Regions from separate parts of the Homo sapiens genome. Here regions 2 and 3 are each linked to region 1. Evidence: promoter capture Hi-C in human tissues and cell types (Jung and others, 2019). All regions are on one chromosome and are shown on one strand. Each heading gives the region's core, a stretch centred on a gene start or on the middle of the fragment in contact. The rest is flanking DNA. Distances are from core to core; before and after follow the strand shown. Region 1 holds the start of IQCF6 (IQ motif containing F6). Region 2 overlaps GRM2 (glutamate metabotropic receptor 2). Region 3 holds the start of IQCF3 (IQ motif containing F3).

What was found. Contacts are between HindIII fragments. The study calls those that stand out against the background at their distance.
Region 2: a fragment that was not itself captured here is called in contact with the fragment with the promoter of IQCF6 in region 1 in 2 of the 25 tissues and cell types used here (mesendoderm cells and thymus).
Region 3: a contact is called between a fragment that was not itself captured here and the fragment with the promoter of IQCF6 in region 1, in 2 of the 25 tissues and cell types used here (heart right ventricle and thymus).

The regions. Positions count from the first base shown.
Region 1 is chr3:51,777,686-51,780,767 of GRCh38, reverse strand. It overlaps IQCF6 (IQ motif containing F6), which reads left to right and starts at 1,531. Exons shown (of 2, transcript NM_001368369.1): 1 at 1,531-1,615; 2 at 1,777-2,205. The coding sequence starts at 1,544. The coding sequence ends at 2,145. All of the region lies in intron 2 of LOC105377087 (a long non-coding RNA gene), which reads right to left. The HindIII fragment of the contact is 12,191 bases long and covers 1-3,082 here.
Region 2 is chr3:51,714,320-51,717,401 of GRCh38, reverse strand. It overlaps GRM2 (glutamate metabotropic receptor 2), which reads right to left. Exons shown (of 6, transcript NM_000839.5): 4 at 1,265-2,340. Among named protein-coding and RNA genes, the nearest start is that of GRM2, 8.8 kb to the right of the region's middle. RefSeq lists an enhancer at 95-952. The HindIII fragment of the contact is 7,924 bases long and covers 1-3,082 here.
Region 3 is chr3:51,827,374-51,830,455 of GRCh38, reverse strand. IQCF3 (IQ motif containing F3) reads right to left here and starts at 1,030. Exons shown (of 3, transcript NM_001393887.1): 1 at 963-1,030; 2 at 744-791; 3 at 1-53. The coding sequence starts at 980. The HindIII fragment of the contact is 8,072 bases long and covers 1-3,082 here.

The DNA.
Region 1 (3,082 bases), core at 282-2,781:
ACATCAAACATAATATTTATATGAATTAACTGACCCACCTCTATATTTTCCTACATTTCAGCTGCATAACCTTTTAATGTTTCTTCATAGGATGATTTTACAACTGCATTGTCTACAGAAATATTCTTATGATTGACATTTGGTATGCATAAAGCATGTGATTTTTCACACTGACTTCCACGTTGTTTACAGTAGCTCTGCTGGTTGTGCCCTACAATCACAGGAATTCAGATAAATTCTATTTCACAAAATTCCCACCAAGAAAAGAAAAAAGTATGGAAATGTTTAAAATTGTATCATTGCATTGTCAAGTATATTCCTGAAAAGAGAGAGCTTCAATTTTAATCAGGCATCAATGAGACTTGAATCTTCCACTTATAGTTTTACACATCTAATAACAGGAAGAATTTTCTACAGACTGGCTTCTGGTTCCATACTTTTCACATTTACTTTTCCTCCCCTGCCCAAATACTTTTGGTGCCAGCACTGGAAGACACGTTCTTATTGGATAGCAGCCCTTCTGTTCCTGCATCTTCACGCCATGAGCAAGGTGAATGAACACAGCAACAGCAGAATGGCTAGCAAGGATTTATGTGTTCCCAAGGGTGACTGTGAACCACACAAATCTATGCTGTTAAACTGAGTCTAGGCCGGGCGCGGTGGCTCACGCCTGTAATCCCAGCACTTTGGGAGGCAGAGGAGGGCGGATCACGAGGTCAGGAGATCGAGACCATCCTGGCTAACACAGTGAAACCCCGTCTCTACTAAAAAGACAAAAAATTAGCCGGGCGTGGTGGCGGGCACCTGTAGTCCCAGCTACTCAGGAGGCTGAGGCAGGAGAATGGCCTGAACCTGGGAGGCGGAGCTTGCAGTGAGCCGAGATTGTGCCACTACACTCCAGCCTGGGCGACAGAGCGAGACTCTGTCTCAAAAAAAAAAAGAAAAAAAAAAACTGAGTCTATCCCAACTCAGCCTTCCCTTAGTCTCGTGGCAAAAGAGGTTGCCATTCCACCCCACTCAACAGGAGGTGAGTGACAGAGGGAGTAAGAGGGAAGAGAGACAGAGGTCCTCTCCAATTGCAGCTGAAATATCTTGCTTTCACAAATTTTACCCAAAAATATACAGCTCTGTAAACACGTTCCTCGGGCCCTGACAGGCGCCCTGACACTTAAGCTTCAGGAAATCCAAATTGGCTATGAGTAGAGGCTTAAAGTAAAACTCCTTCCTTGTAGGTAAGCTGCATGACTCTCTCTTCACTGCCATCAGGAGGATCAGGAATGCCACTGGGGCTGAGAAATAAACTGAAGGCAAGAGATAATGGTAGGCTCCCAAAGTGGTGGGAATCAATAAAGCAAAAGAGATGAAAGCAAGAGAAGAGGAGAGAGAAATGTGGTTAAAATGCGTGCAGACGGGACCTGATGAGGTAGAGTCTTGTGTGCAAGTGGGCGGAGTCCAATGATGGAGGTGTGACTAACAGTTGAGGGTGGGGCTAAAGACAAGGGTGGCCTAAGTGACAGATAAGTGGACCCTAAGGATCAAGGCCATGGACACGCAAAATGTGAGTAAGGCCCTTGCAGTAGGGACTTACCTGACAGGTAATGAACCGTGTCTAAATGTGAGTGGGGGATTGGAAACAAGATGGATGGGCCCTAGAAACAAGAAGTCAGGGGCACCTGGGCCAGGCCTTCTTTCCTCCCAAGATCAGAGATGGGGATAGGAACAGGAGGGGAGGGTCCCCCATTGAGCATCTCCCTGTTTTTCCTTTCCCCCAATCAGTTAGAGAAGACAGCCATAAAGATTCAGTCATGGTGGCGTGGAAACATGGTGCGCCGGACGTTACTGCAGGCAGCACTCAGAGCCTGGGTCATCCAGTGCTGGTGGAGGTCAATGCAGGCCAAGATGTTGGAGCAAAGACGGCGCCTGGCACTAAGACTCTATACCTGCCAGGAGTGGGCGGTGGTGAAGGTGCAGGCACAGGTTCGAATGTGGCAGGCCCGCAGGCGGTTCCTCCAGGCACGCCAAGCGGCCTGCATCATCCAGTCTCACTGGCGCTGGCATGCCAGCCAAACCCGAGGCCTGATCCGGGGCCACTATGAGGTCAGAGCCAGCCGGCTGGAGCTTGACATCGAAATCCTCATGACCTAGGGCGCTGACAGAGCCAAGGAGGCTGGATCTCTCTTCCAATAAAGACCCTTACTGACCATACACTTGCCCTTTGGAGATTAGACTCATGGAGGAGGGTTCAGCCTCTAAGTTTTCTGCCTTCCCCCCAGAAAGATTCCCTGGTGTGGTCTAGAGCCCCTGTCCTCAGGTCACCAACCTAGGCCCCTGTTCCTAACAGCATACCGGGACAGTCTTGCATCCAAGAGAGACCCCAGGGCCCAGGTCAAGCAATGATGCCTCAGTCAGCCTGATTTTGGCCCCTTCCACAGTGGGAGTAGGCATTGGGCTTTAGTTTCCTGCAGCCCCTGTCCAGGCATCTCCATTCAGATCAGAAGATCAGAGAATCTGGCTGCAGCCAGGGCCAGCTGGGAAGGCCAGGATTCCACAGGCCTGTGCTTGGCAAGGCCCTCAGGGCCGGCAGAGTGCTTGGCAGGGAGCCAGGAGGACATGGCACTTCAGCTGGGCAACAGCAGGACAGACGCTGTGCCTTATGGTGGGGAAGGGAGTCAGGGAGCAGCCAGCCAGAGCCAGCCCCTGGGGAAGCCAGAGCAGGAGCTGAGGGCAGCAGCTGTGCCTGCCGCCTGCCCACCCTGGGGCTGAACAACAAGGCTTCCCTCCCCTCTGCTGGGCACTTCCTTGGAGAACCAGGCATGGGATCAGGGAGGGGAGAGAGACTTGGGGGCTGTGGGGGGATGGTTGTGGGGGTGGCATGGGGGCAGGTAAACAAACAGAGGACTAGGGATAGGCAGGGGAAAGGGTTGTCCCTCTGCCACTGGAGGTCATTGGGCACACAGCCTCTAAATCCTATAATGTCCTCAGAAGCAGCTGTGCTCCTCCTCCACCCCCATGTCCCCTCTCTGGCCTCCCCCCAGGATGCCTCACCGTCTGCTGGGCCTGCCTTGGGTGGGTGCTGCTGGGC
Region 2 (3,082 bases), core at 373-2,872, 63 kb after region 1:
GGCATGTATACACAGGGGTGTGTGCATCTGGGGGCTGCAGGAATGGAGTGCGTGCATGTAGGTGTGTGTGTATATCTGTGTAAGTGCATGTATGTGGGGTGGTGAATTTCTGCAGGTGTCTGCGTGAGTGTATGTGTGCGTGAGTGTAGGGTGCATGGGTATGGATTCATTTGTCAGGAAGATATATGTGTGTGTGCCAGCGAGTGTGTGTATGTGGGATATGTGTGTGTGCATGCATGCATGTGGCTATGTCTGTGTGTACAAGTGTGTGTGTGTGTGTGCATGCATGTGTGGGTACGGTGTGTGTCTCAGGTGAGTCCTTAGCTGCCTGTGATTGGCATGCAAATGCAAATCATATGCAAATGCAGGCTGAGTCAGAGCAGAATCCCTCCCCAGCCCTGGCCTCTACCACCCAAGCAGGTGGCCCAGCAGGTGCAAGCAGAGCAGCCAAGCCCAGCGGTCCCTGGCCCCCAGCACTGTGCCACCACACCTCTGTCCTGGGGAAGGGGCCTTTGCCGGGGCTTTCGCCTCAATTTTTCTGCAGTTCAGACCCTGCTCTGCACTCCCAAGCTGAGTGACCTTGGGCAAGGGATTGAACCTCCCTGAGTCTCTGTTTCTTCATCTGTAAAACGGGAGAGCCATGGAGCTTACTCAAGTTATGAAGATTAACCAAGATAATCTTCTTACTCAGAACATAGCTCATCTGTCACCTCCTCAGAGAGGGCTTCCCTGACCACCCTATCTGAAGCAGCCATTGCCCCTTGGAGCTGGGGAGACCCATTGAGACACAGTGCCAGTTGGAACCAAATTTGCTCAGAAGCCACCAACTGGGGAACAATTTTCACCTGCTTTAGCTTTTCTCAACTCTATACCCTGGATCTCCTCCCCTACCCACCTTGCTTCATCTTTCCTGCCTTCCCTGGCTTCATCTCTCAACCCCTTCTGCAGATGACCCCTCAGTGGAGCAGGGCAGAACCCTGTCCATTTGAACATATTTCTGCACCCCCATCACCTTCCAGGATAGGGGATGACATTCAAGTCCTGAAATCTCAGCTCTCTCTAACTCGAGTTCCCCACCTCCCTGGCCATTTCCCTAGGTCCTATTCAGCCCTCCCACCTTCCCCTTGGGATCCACACAAGCTGTGGTCCCCTGAGTGGGCATTATCCTCTTGGAACCCCAGAGCTACCAGTAGATTAAATAAGATACCAGGAAACAGAGGGTCTGGTGTCCCATCTCCCCCGACCTCTGTGGCAGGTAGCTCACCCGGTAGTCACTGGAGGTGACATAGAAGATGGGCAGGAATGCCAGCCAGATGATGCAGGTGGTGTACATGGTGAAGCCAATGAACTTGGCCTCGTTGAAGTTTTCGGGGCACTTGCGAGTCTTGAAGGCATAAAGCGTGCAGAGCGCGATGAGGAGCACATTGTAGGCCAGCGAGCCCAACATACTTGCATCGCGGTGGTTGCAGCGCAGTGTCACCACCTCCCGCCGTTCGGGGGCTGTCTCCTTGCCTGTGCCCGGTGCCTCCACCACCAGCCAGGCGACCACGATGAGCAGCTGGCCCGAGATAAGTGCCAGGCAGATGGCCACCTGTGAGGCAGGACTGATGAAGCGTGGCCGCTGGGCACCCTCCCGGGCCCCACCGAAGATGCGTGCAATGCGGTTGGTCTTGGTGAGCAGGGCTGAGTAGCAGACAGAGAAGGCAGTGCCCAAACCAAGACGCCGTAAGGTACACACTGCCGTGGATGGCTTGGCAATGAAGATGAAGGTCATGCAGTAGCAGAGGAAGACACCACCCAGCAGGATGTAGCAGAGCTCCCGACCTGAGGCCTTGACCACTGGTGTGGCATTGTGCCGCACAAAGACACCCAGCACAAAGAGGGTGGCCAGGGCACCGAGGCAGGCGATGGTGACAGGTCCCACAGCCCAGGCATCGCCCCAGCGGATGTACTCCTGGGGCAGTTCGAAGCAGCCAGTCAGGCTGGCATTGGGCCAGTAGCCCAGGCCACAATCAGCGCAAGTGAATTCGTCCAATCGGTACTCATAGGGCTGGCACGGAATGCAGAGCCAGCAGCAGACTTCGCCCGGCTGCACACTCTTCACCTCATTCTGGAGGCAGGGCTCACTGCAGCGAGAGGCGGGCAGGGGGCCGGCTGAGGGTGAGGCCCATGGGATGAGGCTGGTGTCCAGAGTCAAGCCTTCTGCCCAGTAGCCCACCTTCTGGTAGCGATAGCGCCCACTGCCTGCACGCAGATAGGTGAAGATGTTGTAGCGGCCAATACCATCACCAAAGCGGTCAAAGCGGACCTCATTGTGGGTGTCAGCTGGGCGAAAGGGGGCTAGGATGGGGGAGGGAAGGAAGAGAAGGTTGGACTAGTGTGTTACCCTGATGTGACCTCAACATTCACCCTAACATGGAACCCAAATGCCAGAGCTAAGACCACCATTAGCCCTTCCAATCCTTAACCCAATACTAAATCCTGCCTTGACCCCAATCATTTTTCTAAATGAGAGATGACAACAAAGTCTTACTCCTAAACTCCAACATCAAACCCCAACCCTAAATGCCAAATGTAATCCCAGCCTTAAAGCCCAGACATCTCCAAAAACCTAATGCCCACATCAATCCCCAACCATGACTCCCCAAATTCAACTTTAGTACTATCCAACACTTTCCAACCCAGGCTCCAAATCCCAACTTCATCGAAACATACACTACAGCCCTCTCCCCAAACTCAATGCTAAGGCTAAACCCAGTCTCAGCTCCAATCCTGTCCCCACTAATCCTAACAACAACCCCAGCTCCAGCACCCCTAGTCCTAACAGTCATCCTGGTGCAAACTGAATCCCAACCTCACTGGTCACCTGCAACCACTGCCATTCACCAGAATGTGGTCAGTGGCTGGAAAATCACTTCCTCTCTCCACCCCCACTTCATCCCCTGTAAACCTCACATCTCCCAGCCAGGCTCTAGCCAGGATTTACAGCCATCCCTGGCCCCAGTGAGAAATCAGGGTTCAAGAAAGCAGAAGACATGCTTAAGGCCCCATGAGTGAATAGTGCAGCCTAGATTCAAACCCA
Region 3 (3,082 bases), core at 414-2,913, 50 kb before region 1:
ATCTGCCCAGCTGCCTTCACCCTTTTTCTGTGATGCAGTTGTGCAAGAAGCAACTGGCCAAGCAAAGCAGAGGACTCCCAGTGAATTTATCACCATCAAGCACAGGTGGTTCTCTAAAGAATCAGCCCTCTCCCTGCTGGTTTTGAGGACCCAGGAGACCTGGGTGGGGTTTGTCCTCTACTTCTGTCCTGTTCATGGCTCTGGACACCCTCACAGTCCCAGTGCCCTCATCTATGAAATCGGGATATGTTTGATCTGTGGACTTCTCGGGTTTATGGGACTAGCGGAGACACTTTCTGGTCCAGAAGACCCAACTGGAAGACCAGGGTGTGAGGAACTGAAGGATTCTTATAAGAATCCATGAACCTCTGCATTTATGGCCTGTGTCTTGGTCCAAACTCCAGCCATGATGCTGCCTCCTAATGTCTTGCGTGGTGCTGCAGCCCTTTGGGGTCTCCCCTCATCTCACTTTTGTGGACTTCCACTACCATGTCTCAGTCCCTCCTCATTCTCCTGGGCCTTTCCACTTCCTGTGCTGAGCCCCACCTATCAGGTGGCTGTGCGCACGAAACTTCCTCCCCTTTTACTGTCTATCTCCATACCTTACTCAGTTCACCAAGGAGAGGGAGGGCTTGAGGGGATAAGAGGGCAATGCTGAGCCAGAGATGGATCTCCATTCTAAGAACTCTGGGATCAAAGAGTCAATGATCTGCAATTCTCTCACCCTCCTGGGCCCCACCTACCTTCTGCCGCCTCTGTCTTTCTACTGCATCTTCATCTGGACCACCTTTCTGCAATCGGAATATGGGTGTGGGGGAGCATGGGTGAGGACCAGCCTGACTGCAAAGTCCCCACAGGCCCAGTTCCCCATTCTTTGCCTGGGTCCTAAGAAGTGGCCTGGTGCTTTCCTGGGCCATGGGACAACTCCCACCCCTGGGGGAGTTTGTGTGCCTGAGTCTTACACAGCATTTACTGCCCATGGTTTGGAGCAGTGGTTCAGGTGATCATCTCCCTCTGGTTGCTGTTTCCTGATCTTGGCAGGGGCAGGAAAGGTGGAGAAAGAGATGGCCGTGATGTCACAAAGGCAACTATGACCAGGGGCCACAGTGCCTTTTCCAGGCTCAAAGTTGATGGATAAAGAGAAAATACCTGGCTCTCCTGTTGACTTCCTTGGGCAACTCTCTGTTGAGGAAAAATTGTGCAAATATCATTTCTCAGATTGTCATCTGCCTGTTAACTTTTTTCATGGTTGCCTTTCCTTCCACAGTTATCTTTAATTTTTGATATGCTCAAATCCATTGCCCCTTTACAATTCTGCTTTTGTAGTTTTCTAATAAAGTGCTTTTCCATCCAGGATCATAGATTTTTCTATTAGATTCTGGTCTACCTTTTACATTAAGGTGTTTTAACATTTAATGTAAATGTTTTTATAAGACATTTACAATTAGAAATGACAAAGGGGATGTTACCACGGACCCCACAGAAATAAAAATAACCATCAGAGACTATGCACACAAACTAGAAAACCTAGAAGAGATGGATAAATTCCTGGACACATACACCCTCCCGAGACTGAAGCAGGAAGAAATTGATTCCCTGAACAGACTAATAATGAGCTCTGAAATTGAATTAGTAGTAAATAGCTTACCAACAAAATAAAGCGCAGGACAAGAAGGATCCACAGCTGAATTCTATCAGATGAACAAAGAAGAGCTGGTCCCATTCCTACTGAAACTATTCCAAAAAATTGAGGAGGAAAGGCCCCTCCCCAGCTCATTCTATGAGGCCAGCATCATCCTGATACCAAAACCTGGCAACAACAAAACTTTAGGTCAATATCCTTGACAAACATTTATGCAAAAATCCTTAACAAAGTACTTGCAAACTGAATCCAGCAGTTCATCAAAAAGCTAATCCACCACGATCAAGTAGGCTTCATCCCTGGAATGCAAGGTTGGTTCAACATATGCAAATCAATAAAATGTGATTAATCACATAAACAGAATTACAGACAAAAACCACATGATTATCTTAATAGATTCAGGAAAAGCTTTTGATGAAATTCAACATCTCTTCATGTTAAAAACTCTCAATAAACTAGGTACTGAAGGGACATAACCTCAAAATAATAAGAGCCATATATGACAAACCCACAGCCAACATCATACTGAACAGACAAAAGCTGAAAGCATTCCGCTTGAAAACTGGCACAAGACAAGGATGGCCTCTCTCACCACTCCTATTCAACATGGTATTGGAAGTCATCTTGTAGCTTCAGAACATCAAGGAAAAAGAAGATCCTAAAAGTTTCCAGAAAGAAAAAAAAATAGGTCACATCCCACAAACAAAGGAATCAGAGTGATAAAAGACATTATATTAGTCGGTTCTTGCACTGCTATAAAGAAATACCTTTAAAAAAAGAAAAAAAAATACCTGAGACTGGGTAATTTATAAAGAAAAGAGGTTTAATTGTCTCACAGTTCTGCAGGCTGTCCAGGACTCATAGTGGCTTAGTAAACCAACATAGGAACAGGAAACCAAGTACCACATATTCTCACTTAGAAGCGGGAACTGAATAATGAGAATTATTATGGACACAAAGGGAAACAACAGACACTGGGGACCATTTGAGGGTGGAGGGTGGGAGGAGGGAGAGGAGCAGAAAAGTAACTATTGAGTACTAGGTTTAGTACCTGGGTGATGAAATAATCTGTACAACAAACCCCTATGACACGAGTTTATCTATATAACAAACCTACACATATACCCCTGAACCTAAAATAAAAGTTAAAAACCAAAACCAAAACTAAAAACCACCAACAAAAAAGAACTTCATGTACCTTGTTTAAAAAAACTTACAATGATAAATTAATTATAAAAATTATGAATAATTATAATCTAGCATTTATAAAAATTATAAACATAATTATAAATTAATTATAAAAATTGTAATTAATAAAAAAGGACAGTATGCATTTCCTGTCTTATTCTCTCCCAAAAGAATCTCCCATCACTGAGACAACTATTTTTAACTCTTCTGTATATTTCTCCTATGATTTACCTCTATAACATGCTATATTGA